5 separate regions of the Homo sapiens genome follow, and regions 1, 2, 3 and 4 are each linked to region 5. Evidence: promoter capture Hi-C in 16 types of primary human blood cells and fetal thymus (Javierre and others, 2016). All regions are on one chromosome and are shown on one strand. Each heading gives the region's core, a stretch centred on a gene start or on the middle of the fragment in contact. The rest is flanking DNA. Distances are from core to core; before and after follow the strand shown. Region 1 overlaps MCF2L2 (MCF.2 cell line derived transforming sequence-like 2). Region 2 overlaps MCF2L2 (MCF.2 cell line derived transforming sequence-like 2). Region 3 has its middle 11 kb from the start of LAMP3. Region 4 overlaps LAMP3 (lysosomal associated membrane protein 3). Region 5 holds the start of B3GNT5 (UDP-GlcNAc:betaGal beta-1,3-N-acetylglucosaminyltransferase 5).

Region 1 (2,700 bases), core at 30-2,529, 70 kb before region 5:
CAGGTGCAAACCACCGTACCTGGCTGGTCTCTAATTTATATTCTCATTCCAAAGTGGATTCATTCCTTGACTAATACTTTACAATAATAGAAGGAAGTCCATATTCTTATGTCCTCTGACCAAGAGTTAATTTTCAAAATAATCAACAGGGAGTGAAAAAATATAATGTCATAGTTAAAGGCTTCAAAGATGTGTTTCAGAGATAGGAGTGAGGAGTCCTTGTCCCACTCAGGAGTGAGTAGAGGGTGTGATATAGTCACTGAGTGAGCCAGAACCACACCCAGGCCAGAACTACTGCCAAGGAATAGAAAGGGGCAATTGGGGATGCGTCAGCTTCCTCTGGATGTGTGAGTGTTCGCTCATCAGCGGAACTGCTAGCTTATAAAACCCAATGCCCTGTCACCTCCAGATCCCCTCAGTGCAAGCTAAAGTAGGGACACATCAATATTCTTCATCGGGGCGCACCAGTGTAGTGAGTCTTTTCAATGCATACTCTTTGTGTTTCCCTGTATTCTAGTTTTATTTTCACATTTACCCGACCAGCTTTGATTGGGCTTCTCATGGTAGACTTTCAGGCCATTGCACAACACTTGATTTTGGTGGCTGAAAGGTGTACCTTAGCTTGGGAACTTATGACTGAAAATTCACGTAAAGCAAGGCCTGACTTCTAGGTAGCCTGGAACTGTGTTCCCTGAGCCAAGTCAACATTTTGTCACAGGCTATACCACGCTTTGGTATTTCTCACTCAAAAGCAAAAAATGGAAGAGACTTTAAAATATTTCCCTGCTGGATATAGTAACTTTTTTTTTTTTTTTTGATGTGGTCTTGTTCTGTCGCCCAGGCTGGAGTGCCATGGTGCGATCACTGTTTGCTGCAGCCTTAACCTCCAGGCCCAAGCAGTCCTCTTGACTTAGCCACCCAAGTAGCTGGGGCCACAGGTGCATGCCACCATGCCTGGCTAATTTTTTTTTTTATTTTTTTTCTAGTGATGGGGTCTTGCTATGTTGCTCTGGCTGGTCTCAAACTCCAGGCCTCAAATGATTCTCCCACCTCAGCCTTCCAAAGTGCTGAGATTACCGGCATGAGCGACTGTGCTTGGCTGTAACCATTTTTAAATATAAATGCCTGATAAAGCAAAGTTGGAGTATCATTTAAATAATAATAGAATATAAAATATAATTATGATAAGAATAGAATGTAAATGAGCTATTATTTAATGATCAATGAGGAGTATGTTTAATTAAATTTTTACCTTACAGATCATCATGGTAAACTCTGTCTCTGACCTTCACGGCTACATCGACAAAAGCCAACTGACCCGGGAATTAGGGGGGACTTTGGAATATCGCCACGGTCAGTGGGTAAATCACCGCACTGTGAGTACCAGCTTACGTGTGCTTTTCACTGTCTCTCCTTGTTTTCTGGAAGATGGGGTGGGGGAGTTAAAGATCAACTGCCAGGAGGTCACCCTGTGACTGCCTGACCTTGGGGTGGTTGGGATTTCTCAGCCACAGGGTGGGGAAGAAGGAGTGTGGAAGGGCGAAGGCTGGGATTTCTCCTGTTGACCACCTTACCCCACTGCATCTCCCGGTGTGGGGGTTTTGGGACACTTACCTTCGAATGCACCTGGGAAGTTTCCAGAAACACCAATAGCCTGTTATACCTCAGAGAAACTAATTTACTTCATGTGGGATGGGTCTTAGACATTAACACACCACAGAACTCCCCAGATGATTCTAACGTACATACATATTGACACCCATGAAGTCAGAAGAAGCTACATTTAAATAGTGTCACCCCCCGGGGACTACTATAGGTGAGAAGGTGGGAGGGGGACAAGGATTGTAGAACTATTGGGTACGATACTCACTACCTGGGTGACAGGATCAACTGTACCCCAAACCTTGGCATCATGCAATATACCCATGTAACAAACCTGCACATGTACCCCCGAATCTAAAATCAAAGTTGAAATTAATTTTAAAAAATTGTCACAATAACATGTTGTCTGATGTTGGGTGAGTTTCTAAGCATTTCTGAGCTTGTTTCTTCATCTGTTAAAATGGGACTAACACAGTATTTCTCTATAGGGGATAATTTTGCCTGCCTCCTACATTTGTCAATATCTTTAGACTTTTTTGTAGTCATAACTTAGTGGGGAAAGTTAACTGGTATCTGGTGGGTCGTCAGGGACTCCGCTGAACACCTTACAATGCTCAAGACAGCCTCCCACAACAAAGAATCCTCTGGCCCAAAGTGTGAATAGCCAATGCTGAGAAACCCCGGACTAACGAAAGCCTCCTGAAAGTTTGATGTGGGGAATAAGTGATGTATTGTCTGTGAAAGCACCTGATATATAGTATTTTACTTTTTCCTACCTACTGATACTGGTGATTGTTATGCTAAGTTAGGAGTTTCAGTAATATTGAGGAAAAAGATCAAAACTCATAGTCATGGCTTGAATGTTGGCGTCCCCTCAAAATTCACATGTTGGAACCTAATGTGATAGCATTAAGAGGAGGGGGCTTTTGGGATGTATTAAGTCATGAAGGCTCTGGCATCATAAATGGAGTTAGTGCCCTTGCAAAAGAGGTTGAAGGGAGCTGTTATGCCCCCTCTGCCCTGTAAGGGCACAGAAGGCATCCTTTATGAGGAACAGACCTCCACCAGACACCAAATCTGCTGGGGCCTTGATCTTGA
Region 2 (2,700 bases), core at 115-2,614, 100 kb before region 5:
ATTGCTCCCTTTTCATAAGAGTGTATTCTTGTTTTATGGATGGAGTATTCTTTCAACAGTCTGAGATTACTGACTAGAAAAAATATAAACTTTTTTGTAGTTGTTTTCATTGTTTCTAGATTGGCTGTTCTGTTTGTTCACCTCAGTCTTTCTCTTTGATGCTTTGCTTTTATTCAATTCAGAAGATCTTTGGTTGCCTTTTTATATTTTTGAAGGGTTATGTTGTAAATATAATTATCTGACTTGGATTTCCTTTGCAATTGGGTAGCTCTGTTTAACCAAGGTACTTGCACTTGAATGGGAGGAAATTGAGGTCAGTAGACTCTGCAACAGTGAGTGGGTCCTATAAATAGATTTTCCTTTAGGGATGCTTGATTAGGGAGTAGGCAATACTTTTATTTTATTTATTTATTTATTTTGAGACGGAGTCTTGCTCTGTTGCCAGGCTGGAGTGCAGTGGCGCAATCTCGACTCACTGCAACCTCTGCCTCCCGGGTTCAAACAATTCTCCTGCTTCAACCTCCTGAGTAGCTGGGACTACAGGTGCATGCCACCACGCCCAACTAATTTTTATATTTTTAGTAGAGACAGGGTTTCACCGTGTTGGCCAGGATGGTCTCAATCTCTTGACCTCGTGATCAGCCTGCCTTGGCCTCCCAAAGTGCTGGGATTACAGGTGTGAGCTACAATGCCCGGCAATACTTTTTTTTTTTATAATAAAGAGTACTTTGCTCTAGAGGCAGAGTTTTTTTTTTTTTTTTAAGTCAATTTTATTTCTAGAAAGACCTGCTCTTTGTATTCTTCTTTTGAGTCTTTCTTGCATATGGTCTGAAGTTTCTTCAGGCACTGCTCTTCCTCCTCCTTAGCTTCAACTCCTATAGCCTAGGCACTGTCCTGGCAAATCTACTTTGTGAAGGAAGAGGTTTGCAAGGCTGCAGATGGGGCAAATGCTACAGCCAGCTGCTCTTTATTCACAAGGGGAGGGGAGGGGGGAAGGAGGGGCCCACTGCCCTAGTCACTCCAAGTGAGGCCCCAGAATGAACATCACCTGGAAGCCTGTCAGAAATGCAGAATCTGGGGCATCACCCCTAGCTTCATGACTTGAAATTGCTATGTTTAACAGGACCCTCAGGTGACTGGTGTGGACTTGAAAAGCATTGTTGATGGCCGGGTGCGGTGGCTCACGCCTGTAATCCCAGCACTTTGGGAGGCCGAGGCAGGCGGATCACGAGGTCAGGAGATCAAGACCATCCTGGCTAACACGGTGAAACCCTGTCTCTACTAAAAATACCAAAAAAAAAAAAAAAAAAAAAAAAATTAGCTGGGCGTGGTGGCGGGCGCCTGTAGTCCCAGCTACTCGGGAGGCTGAGGCAGGAGAATGGTGTGAACCCGGGAGGCGGAGCTTGCAGTGAGCCGAGATCGCGCCACGGCACTCCACCTATGCGACAGAGCGAGACTCCGTCTCAAAAAAAAAAAAAAGGAAAGGAATTGTTGATTATGGTAGCTAAGTAATTATTTTGCTATTCCTGCTTTCTGCCCCCCTCTACTGAAAGAGTAAGACTGTGTTGGAGTTGCCTCTAAGAGGCCTTCAAGCATTTTCCCCTCCATTTTCTAAGGTCAGTATCCTTAGAAAGAGGAATTCATTCATATCCACAAGCAACAAGATCTGATCCTTTTCTAGTGACATTACCTGTCTCTTGCTTCCTCCTCACAATCCCCTAGTTTTTTTCATTTTCAAACATTTCATGTAAATTCTAGAAATCAATATCATGTAAAGAAAGTTGTGGTGGAGTGTGTGGAGGGGATGGGATCCATTAGACTTATGAAAATAAAATAAAATAAATAATAAATAATATAATGAATAATAAATAATATTATTAAAATAAATAGAAGCATTTTATGCCAGTGCTTTAAACAATTATTTTATATCACTTCACACAGTACAAAGACCTGGAAACATGCTTTAATTCTTACATTTATTTCTGTATTTATTCATGCATTCATGATGGATTTATTCCCTTTGCATGCTTATAGGGACTACGTTATTGATCAGTAACATACCTATGTTGACTCAAAAGGGCCAAACTCTGTAAAATATTTGAAGAACTTTATTCTGAGCCAAATGTAAGGACCACGACGCCATGACACAGCCTCAGGAGGTCCTAAGAACATGTGCCCAAGGTCATTGGGTAATAGCTTGATTTTATACATTTTAGGGAGACAGGAGTTACAGGCAAACAACAATCAATACATGTAAGATGTACATTGGTTTGGTCCAGAAAGGTGAGACAACTTGAAAACTTGAACCACTGGGTGAGAGACTTACAGATCATAGGTGGATTCAAACATTTTCTGATTGGTAATTGGTTGAAATGGTTAAGTTATTATCTAAAGAGTAGAAGTCAGCAGAAAGAAATGCTGGGGGTTAAGATAAGTGGGGTGGGGTGGGAGGGTGCAGGTTGTGGAAGCCAAGGTTCTTGGTATGTAGCAGGCTTTAGAGAGAATAGATGGTAAATGTCCCTTATCAGACCGTAAAAGGTGCCAGACTCTCAGTTAAATCTCTCTCCTGGATCAGGAAAAGACCTGGAAAGGGAAGGGGATTCTCTGCAGAATGTAGATTTTCCCCACAAGAGACAGCTTTGCGGGATCATTTCAAAATATGGCAAAGAAATATATTTTGCAGAAAAAATAATTCTATTT
Region 3 (2,700 bases), core at 80-2,579, 79 kb after region 5:
ATTCAGCAACCATGGAAAGGTCGTGGGGATGCCTTTCCAAAAGTGGGAGGCTGCTTTAGATCCAACCCAGGCTTATGAATGCAACAGATTGGGATTTTTTAAAGCACGTAGAGCCCTTTGCAGCATTAACAGCAATAAACATGCCTCCCAAGTCAAAAGAAAATATAGTCCTAAGACTATACTTTCAGGGATCATTTCTATAGTTCGTCACTAGAGAAGTTTCTCTGAACGTGTAGAGCACTGATGCAGCCAAAAAACACATGAAAAAATGCTCATCATCACTGGCCATCAGAGAAATGCAAATCAAAACCACAGTGAGATACCATCTCACACCAGTTAGAATGGCAATCATTAAAAAGTCAGGAAACAACAGGTGCTGGAGAGGATGTGGAGAAATAGGAACACTTTTACACTGTTGGTGGGACTGTAAACTAGTTCAACCATTGTGGAAGTCAGTGTGGCGATTCCTCAGGGATCTAGAACTAGAAATACCATTTGACCCAGCCATCCCATTACTGGGTATATACCCAAAGGACTATAAATCATGCTGCTATAAAGACACATGCACACGTATGTTTATTGTGGCACTATTCACAATAGCAAAGACTTGGAACCAACCCAAATGTCCAACAATGATAGACTGGATTAAGAAAATGTGGCACATATACACCATGGAATACTATGCAGCCATAAAAAATGGTGAGTTCATGTCCTTTGTAGGGACATGGATGAAATTGGAAATCATCATTCTCAGTAAACTATTGCAAGGACAAAAAACAAAACACCACATATTCTCACTCATAGGTGGGAATTGAACAATGAGAACACATGGACACAGGAAGGGGAACATCCCATTCTGGGGACTGTTGTGGGGTGGGGGAAGGGGGGAGGGATAGCATTAGGAGATATACCTAATGCTAAATGACGAGTTAATGGGTGCAGCACACCAGCATGGCACATGTATACATATGTAACTAACCTGCACATTGTGCACATGTACCCTAAAACTTAAAGTATAATAATAATAAATTAAAAAAAAAGAAAATATAGTCCTACACAATCTGTTACAATGGTGGTGTATTTTTACACTTTTTATAATACACATCTATGCATTCAGTCTTGACGTGTGTGTGTGTGTGTGTGTGTGTGTGTGTGTTTCTCAGTCAACTTCTCTGCTTACAGTGTCTATCACAATATATCCATTTCCCTATGAGAATCCATTTCTCTGTGAGAACATGTAAGAACTTCAGATGGTCTCTCATCTTAGCTGAACAGAAGAGTCTGTTGGGTTCTGACCACTTGCCTCAGGAAACACATCACTTGTATCCTCTCAAACATTTGACTGTTGAATAGCCAGCCACTCACTATGGAAACACCCCCCAAAGCATTCTCAATCCTTTGGATCTCGGCCCTTTTCTGGATCTATGAGGATGTCCATACTTAATAATTCTAGCAGAATGCAAATTGGCCAAACCTCACAAGCCTCATAGGAAGACCCTGTTTGCAAATGTCTTGCCACAGGTGGGTGACCAGGGGAGTCATTCCAATACCAGTCATTGCTGGAGGTTCCTGGGGTATTGTCCTCCAGTGATCCAGGATGGTCCAATATGACCTTTCACTCCAGCCTCCTTGTCAAAGCCCCAAGCTGCTGCTCTGCTTGCTGGTGTCGTCTGGGAAAAAGCTACCCTTTGGGGCTCAGAGACTCAGACTCCCCACTGAGCCCATGGTGGGCTGCAGGGTGGGACAGGAATCATGGGATAATTCTCATAAAATTGTGCCAGGTACACCGTCTGTTCCCAGTGGACACGACATTCCCTATTCTACACCTGGACACACTGCTCATTCAGGAAATAGTTGTGCATTTTTAGACTTCTTAAAAACAGGGGAAAAAAGAGTGGCTTTTCTGTGAGTGACATTTGTGTCACCTTGTTTAAGTATAAATGGAAAAGAATCCAAAACCACCAGATAAAATCCCTCAGACTTAGAAGTTGTTCAGATCCTCCGTGGCTATATGATGTTGCCTGTTGTCCACCAGAGGAACTTAGATTTCAAAATACTGCTGACAATTGGGAATGCTGTGACCTCAGATTAAAGTGCCCTGGCTGAAGCATTAGAACTAAAAGCAGACCCAGATCTGTAAAATCTGATGGGAGTCTGAGTTCATGTTAAACATCAGCCATGCATTATGAAATATTAGAAAAGTTAGAGATCCTCTAAACCAGCCTTCCCAGAGTATACTTTGCAGAATATGCAGAAGAGTGTAAGAGCTTTTTTTTTTTTTGAATGAAGTCTCGCTCTGTTGCCAGGCTGGAGTGCAGTGGCATGATCTTGGCTCACTGCAACCTCTGCCTCCTGGGTTCAAGTGATTCTTCTGCTTCAGCCTCCCCGGTAGCTGGGATTACAGGCATGTAAGGAAGCATCCTTCCTGGCATAGACCTGGGGGTGAGGAATATCAGTTGCTACAAGAAAGACACAAAACCATGCTCAGATGCTATTGGCCCATCTCTCCTACAAAGGCCTTAAAAGCCTGGAGGAAGGGTAACAAATACTGACGCTCCTAGGGGGCTGGTAAATCCAACACAGATGGAGAAAAAGGAACAAAAACTTGAAAAACAAAACAACAACAACAAAAAACCCTCTGATTCTGGGGAAGGGGCAGGAATATGTGCTGAGCCCAAAACTACTGCTGCGGGGAGGGAC
Region 4 (2,700 bases), core at 201-2,700, 98 kb after region 5:
GCCCAGCTAATTTTTCTATTTTTAGTAGAGGTGGGATTTCACCATGTTAGCCAGGCTGGTCTTGAACTCCTGACCTCAGGTGATCTGCCCACGTTGGCCTCCCAAAGTGTTGGGATTACAGGCGTGAGCCACCGCGCCCGGCCCAACATCTGTGTTTTGTCCACTTTTCTGGATCCCTATGTGCCTGGAAGGAGGCAAGGATAGACCTGTTCTAGTTGGAAAAGAACGGAGGACCTCTGCCCTTAAGGACAGCCTCTGGAGAGAACCTGTGACAACAGTAGACACCGTCTGTGTGCTTAATGGTCCATGAAGAGTTTTACTTAAACCAACTCATGTGAGCCTTACAATAATCCTAAAAGGCCTACAATGCTGTTGTCCTCATTAACACATTCTGTCATTTTTTCGTTCGACCCATATTTACTGAACACTGTCTATGTGCAGGCACTGACGGTAAAAATGGTACACACAGTTTCCACCTTCACGGTGCTCTTAATCTACTAGGAAAGTTCCACAACCAACAAATAAACCAATAAGCAAACATTTAATCAGGGAAAATATTTGGCTGGTACATACTGGCCAGGCTGATTGTTAAATATTTGAATACCATCCCCATATATACTTACAAGTTGTAATTAATGCAGTGAAAGCAATGAATTTAACACTGCAGTGGAGAATCATGGATATGGGGAACTATTTTATATAAGGAGGACAAGGAAGATGCTCTGAGGAGCTGCCATGAAAGCCAGAACACAAAGGACAACCCACCTGAAATATCAGAGCAGTTATGACTTCTCTTTCTTGGTTGAGAAAGACTGGGCCACTCCAAAAGTTAAGTACGAAAATGACAGGAATTGGTCTGTATTGAGAAAACAACAAGTGACAAGATAAAAAATGGAAAGGACTGTATTGTGAAGAGATGAGTCTCCTGTCATTGGGAACAGTTAAGTCTAGATTGGATGAACGCATGGCAAAGATCTGTAGGTGTAATTCAAACATCAGATTAGGGTTTGGGGTGGGGCACGGTGGCTCACGCCTATAATCCCAGCACTTTGAAAGGCTGAGGCAGGCGGATCACAAGATGAGTTTGAGACCAGCCTGGACAACATGGTGAAACCCCATCTCTACTAAAAATACAAAAATTAGCCGGGCGTGGTGGCAGGTGCCTTTAATCCCAGCTACTCACGAGGCTGAGGCTGGAGAATCGCTTGAACCCAGGAGGCAGAGGTTGCAGTGAGCCGAGATTGTGCCACTGTACTCCAGCCTGAGCAACAGAGCAAGACTCTGTCTCAAAAAAGAAAAAAAAGATTGGAGTTTGGACTAGATGACTTTTAAGACCCCTTTCAAACCTGGGATTATATGATTCTGTGAAAACTGTGTAACTCTGTAAATCTTTATTACCATCATTCATGCTGCCCCAGCTCTATCAGGTCATACAGCAGCTGTTCACCCAGGAACACTATTTTATGTCAGCTGTCCGGATCCACATTTGAAGGTGGAGAATGAAGAGGCATTGACACTTAGATATCTAGCTGAGCATGATCACTTTGGCGTGTATTAGTACCACACCTCACACAGGCAAAGGGGCTGGGTGCTGTGGAACTGTCATAACCCTGTAAAAGGCATGGATACAACCAGAACATTACAATTGTGTCCTGGGGGTAGAATCTTTGGTGATGTTTGCTTCATTGTTGTACCCTTGCAAATTTCCCCCAAGTATAAAAATATGCATGTTAGGTTTTTTTATGAACAGACATTAAGATGGGGATGGGAGAGGGAACCTTGTAAGCAATCGGTTAGTGTTTTTAACACTTTTATTTCCTAATTTTCAGTAATTTTGCACGATGGCAGTCAAATGAGAGCAAAAGCATTTCCAGAAACCAGAGATTATTCTCAACCTACTGCAGCAGCAACAGTACAGGACATAAAAAAACCTGTCCAGCAACCAGCTAAGCAAGCACCTCACCAAACTTTAGCAGCAAGATTCATGGATGGTCATATCACCTTTCAAACAGCGGCCACAGTAAAAATTCCAACAACTACCCCAGCGACTACAAAAAACACTGCAACCACCAGCCCAATTACCTACACCCTGGTCACAACCCAGGCCACACCCAACAACTCACACACAGCTCCTCCAGTTACTGAAGTTACAGTCGGCCCTAGCTTAGCCCCTTATTCACTGCCACCCACCATCACCCCACCAGCTCATACAACTGGAACCAGTTCATCAACCGTCAGCCACACAACTGGGAACACCACTCAACCCAGTAACCAGACCACCCTTCCAGCAACTTTATCGATAGCACTGCACAAAAGCACAACCGGTCAGAAGCCTGTTCAACCCACCCATGCCCCAGGAACAACGGCAGCTGCCCACAATACCACCCGCACAGCTGCACCTGCCTCCACGGTTCCTGGGCCCACCCTTGCACCTCAGCCATCGTCAGTCAAGACTGGAATTTATCAGGTTCTAAACGGAAGCAGACTCTGTATAAAAGCAGAGATGGGGATACAGCTGATTGTTCAAGACAAGGAGTCGGTAAGTTGGGGCCACAGGACTATAACACTATCTTCAAAAAGTCTGAGTGGAGGTTGCCTTGCTAGGAATGAGCATTCCCCACATCCTGTGTCTTTAAATGAAACCAATAGCTGTGAGCTCATCTCTCTCCAAGGTGCTCCATTAAAAGGTGATTATGTTTT
Region 5 (2,700 bases), core at 70-2,569:
TCAGGGACGGGGACCCGCAGGCCCCGGGAAGCCGCCCCAACCGGAGCTGCCCGGCCCCCGAGCCTACCTGCCGCACCTGGGCGGCGGCCCGGCCTGGGTCCCAGCCGCTGGCCACCCGCGCGGGCAGGCCGGAGGGAACAAAGGCGTTCCGGGGAGGGGACGAGCCTCCTTCTCCGCCGCGCTTTCAGAGGGCGGGCTGCCGGGGCCCGCGGTGGGAGAGGCCTCCCCGGCTTCCCGACTTCCCGGCGCTGGGCCGTGCGCGGTCCGGGCCAGGGCGGCGGGCCCCGATCCGGTGTCCACGCCAGCCACGCGCCCCCGGCCCAAGCGCGCGTTCCCACCTGAAGTCCTGGCGCCACCCGCCGGGCGAGGGCCGGCGTGCCCTCACCTCCTCGCCACTCTTCTCCTCCAGAGACCTCGCTCGGCCCGGAGTGGGCAGACTCGGAGCCTCCCGCGCCGGAGACCGCGAGCCGCTCGGCCGAGGAGGCGCGGCGGGGCGGGGGCGGGGCGGAGGGGCCGGCCCGCAGCCCCCAATGCCGGGAGCCCGCGCTGGAGACCCAGGGAGCCCAGCTCGGGGCCGCGGCACGGAGAACGAACCATCCGTGGCCTGGAGACGTATCCCGCCGAGCGGCCAGAACTTTCCCCATTTAGCGATCCGGAAAGGAAGCCAACACTCCCACCCAGAGAGGCCTCGGCCGCGGAAAGATGCGGCCGCGGCACAGCCGTGTTTTCACCACGTAACTGACCACAGACTAACTCCGCGCGGAACCACCGGCCCAGGGCGCTCCGCCAAGAGGCGGACTGTGCTGGCCTCGCGGGCCCTACGCCCAGGGAACGCCGCGGTTCCTCCCACACGGGACACCGGTTCCGCAGCGCCGCGGATTAGGATGGTCTTTTACTTTCCGAGCGGGAGCTCTAACGCAGGCTCAGGCGGGTCTTGTTAAAAGGTTTCTGGTCACACCACTTATGCGTGGAGCTCTGGGGGCCTCAGTAACAAAGTAAGGAAACTTACAGCAAACTAGGGCTGCACTGCCGCTGTCCGTTTCTAAAATACGAGAAGAGGGGGAAACCCCGCCCCAGGCCAGCTTCCCAGTGACTTTACCTCCAAGTCCAGCTTCATTTCAAGGGCAGTTTAGAGCGAAACTCACGAAGTTCAAGCCCAGCTCTTTAAATGTCCAAATCGGAGGTCGGCTTTCCTTCCCGCATCGGAGCTAAAGTCGCTGGTCTCAAGAACAAAACTTGCGGGCTTTAAATCTTGGGCGAGGACTGGACGGGCAGCGCTGGACTGGGCTCGCTTCCCCGGCGGGATGCGGGCTGTATGCGGGCGGGATGGGGGCGGGCCCGGGCGGGGGCGCGAGGCTCCCAGCCGCGCGCCCCGCACTCTCGGCGTCACGGCCCGAGCCCGGCCCCGCCCGCCAGCCGCCACCCTCCCGGCGCGTAGGTGAAGGTGATGGGCCCCGCCCCAGTTTGTTCTTGTCTGTAGATGAGAATTCCAGGAAGTGTTTCCCTGCCGCTCGTCAGTTAATTGCGATCACTTACTCAAATGGCCAACTGGAAGCCAGAGTGCACATGAATGTCCTCTTTGAGCTATTTTCCTCCTTTAGAATACTTCATGCAGGTAACCAGACAATATCGAGAGATGCGGACTTCTACTCAACGAGAGAGATTATAAATGAATCCTGGATGCGCTTGATTTCTTGTTTCCCGCATGTTGTTAGACCTCTCCCTAAAGCCACAAAACATTTAACGGAGATAATATTTTGAGCGATTCTGTTATTGTACATATTTCAGAACATGACAGAAAAGCAAAAGATTAACCCAAATACTTTAGTAAAATAAAAGCTTTGAGTTTGTCGTAAAAGGAACAAGACAGGTAATGAGTTAAATGTATGATTGTCGAATCAGGGTTTAAAACAGTGGGGCCAGCAGACACGGTGGCTCACACCTGTAATCCCATCACTTTGGGAGGCTGAGCCGCAGGAGGATTGCTTGATCCCAGGAGTTAGAGACCAGCGTGGCCAACATAGCAAGACCCCATCTCTAAAAGAAAAAACACACACACAAAATGAAAACTGTTGTTCATTCAAACTAGATTTTTAGGAAGTTTTTAAATTGCTTTCCTTAAGCTGGTCAGCATCTTTTAAATCATGCAGTTCTTTTCATATGCTGCCTACACAGGGCATGGCTCAGCATCTCCCAGACTGTGGCACTGCATGTTCATCAGACCACAGACAGAAATATTTACATGTGTGATTTGCAAAGGAGTCATTGACAGTGACCCACAAATAAGCTGATTCATTGTTAATACAGCACTAATGACATACCTTCTCTAATAAAATGCTGACTGAAATCCCACATGCATTTCCCCCAGCCATCACATGTGTATGTTGTATATCTGTGCAAATATTCAATTACAATTATATTCCTTTCAGATCATTTGGAGCTAGGTCCATGTGTCAGTATACATATGTTCCACATACATGAGCACATAGAACTGTACCCACGAGAAATACAAACTGACCAAAACAGTGGTAGACACACATACAAATCACATATTCACATCATACTAGATACAGATAAACACACCAGATAGATAAATGGTTTCAAAAGTATGTCTGGAGATTGGAAATACGATGCAAGTTTTTTGGTGGTAGGAGGGAGAGATGAGAGGGTGTGAAGGAGAGATAGGCAAGGTCAAGTAGT

The links. The method cuts DNA at HindIII sites, captures the fragments that hold promoters and counts their contacts. A CHiCAGO score of 5 or more calls a contact.
Region 1: a contact is called between a fragment that was not itself captured here and the fragment with the promoter of B3GNT5 in region 5, in 1 of 17 cell types (M2 macrophages). The highest score is 5.2, in M2 macrophages.
Region 2: a contact is called between a fragment that was not itself captured here and the fragment with the promoter of B3GNT5 in region 5, in 6 of 17 cell types (erythroblasts, M2 macrophages, megakaryocytes and 3 more). The highest score is 9.7, in erythroblasts.
Region 3: a contact is called between a fragment that was not itself captured here and the fragment with the promoter of B3GNT5 in region 5, in 1 of 17 cell types (M2 macrophages). The highest score is 5.1, in M2 macrophages.
Region 4: a fragment that was not itself captured here is called in contact with the fragment with the promoter of B3GNT5 in region 5 in 2 of 17 cell types (M2 macrophages and activated CD4 T cells); the score reaches 6.0 in M2 macrophages.

Annotation. Positions count from the first base shown.
Region 1 is chr3:183,321,911-183,324,610 of GRCh38, reverse strand. It overlaps MCF2L2 (MCF.2 cell line derived transforming sequence-like 2), which reads left to right. Exons shown (of 30, transcript NM_015078.4): 6 at 1,260-1,376. Among named protein-coding and RNA genes, the nearest start is that of B3GNT5, 70 kb to the right of the region's middle. The HindIII fragment of the contact is 4,944 bases long and covers 1-2,700 here.
Region 2 is chr3:183,354,231-183,356,930 of GRCh38, reverse strand. All of the region lies in intron 3 of MCF2L2 (MCF.2 cell line derived transforming sequence-like 2), which reads left to right. Among named protein-coding and RNA genes, the nearest start is that of MCF2L2, 73 kb to the left of the region's middle. The HindIII fragment of the contact is 4,685 bases long and covers 1-2,700 here.
Region 3 is chr3:183,172,480-183,175,179 of GRCh38, reverse strand. It overlaps the pseudogene SNORD3P4. Among named protein-coding and RNA genes, the nearest start is that of LAMP3, 11 kb to the right of the region's middle. The HindIII fragment of the contact is 3,498 bases long and covers 1-2,700 here.
Region 4 is chr3:183,153,521-183,156,220 of GRCh38, reverse strand. It overlaps LAMP3 (lysosomal associated membrane protein 3), which reads left to right. Exons shown (of 6, transcript NM_014398.4): 2 at 1,830-2,539. Among named protein-coding and RNA genes, the nearest start is that of LAMP3, 7.9 kb to the left of the region's middle. The HindIII fragment of the contact is 4,200 bases long and covers 1-2,700 here.
Region 5 is chr3:183,251,872-183,254,571 of GRCh38, reverse strand. B3GNT5 (UDP-GlcNAc:betaGal beta-1,3-N-acetylglucosaminyltransferase 5) reads right to left here and starts at 1,319. Exons shown (of 2, transcript NM_032047.5): 1 at 1,100-1,319. All of the region lies in intron 15 of MCF2L2 (MCF.2 cell line derived transforming sequence-like 2), which reads left to right. LOC124906310 (a long non-coding RNA gene) reads right to left here. Exons shown (of 3, transcript XR_007096189.1): 3 at 2,017-2,037. The HindIII fragment of the contact is 12,746 bases long and covers 1-1,841 here.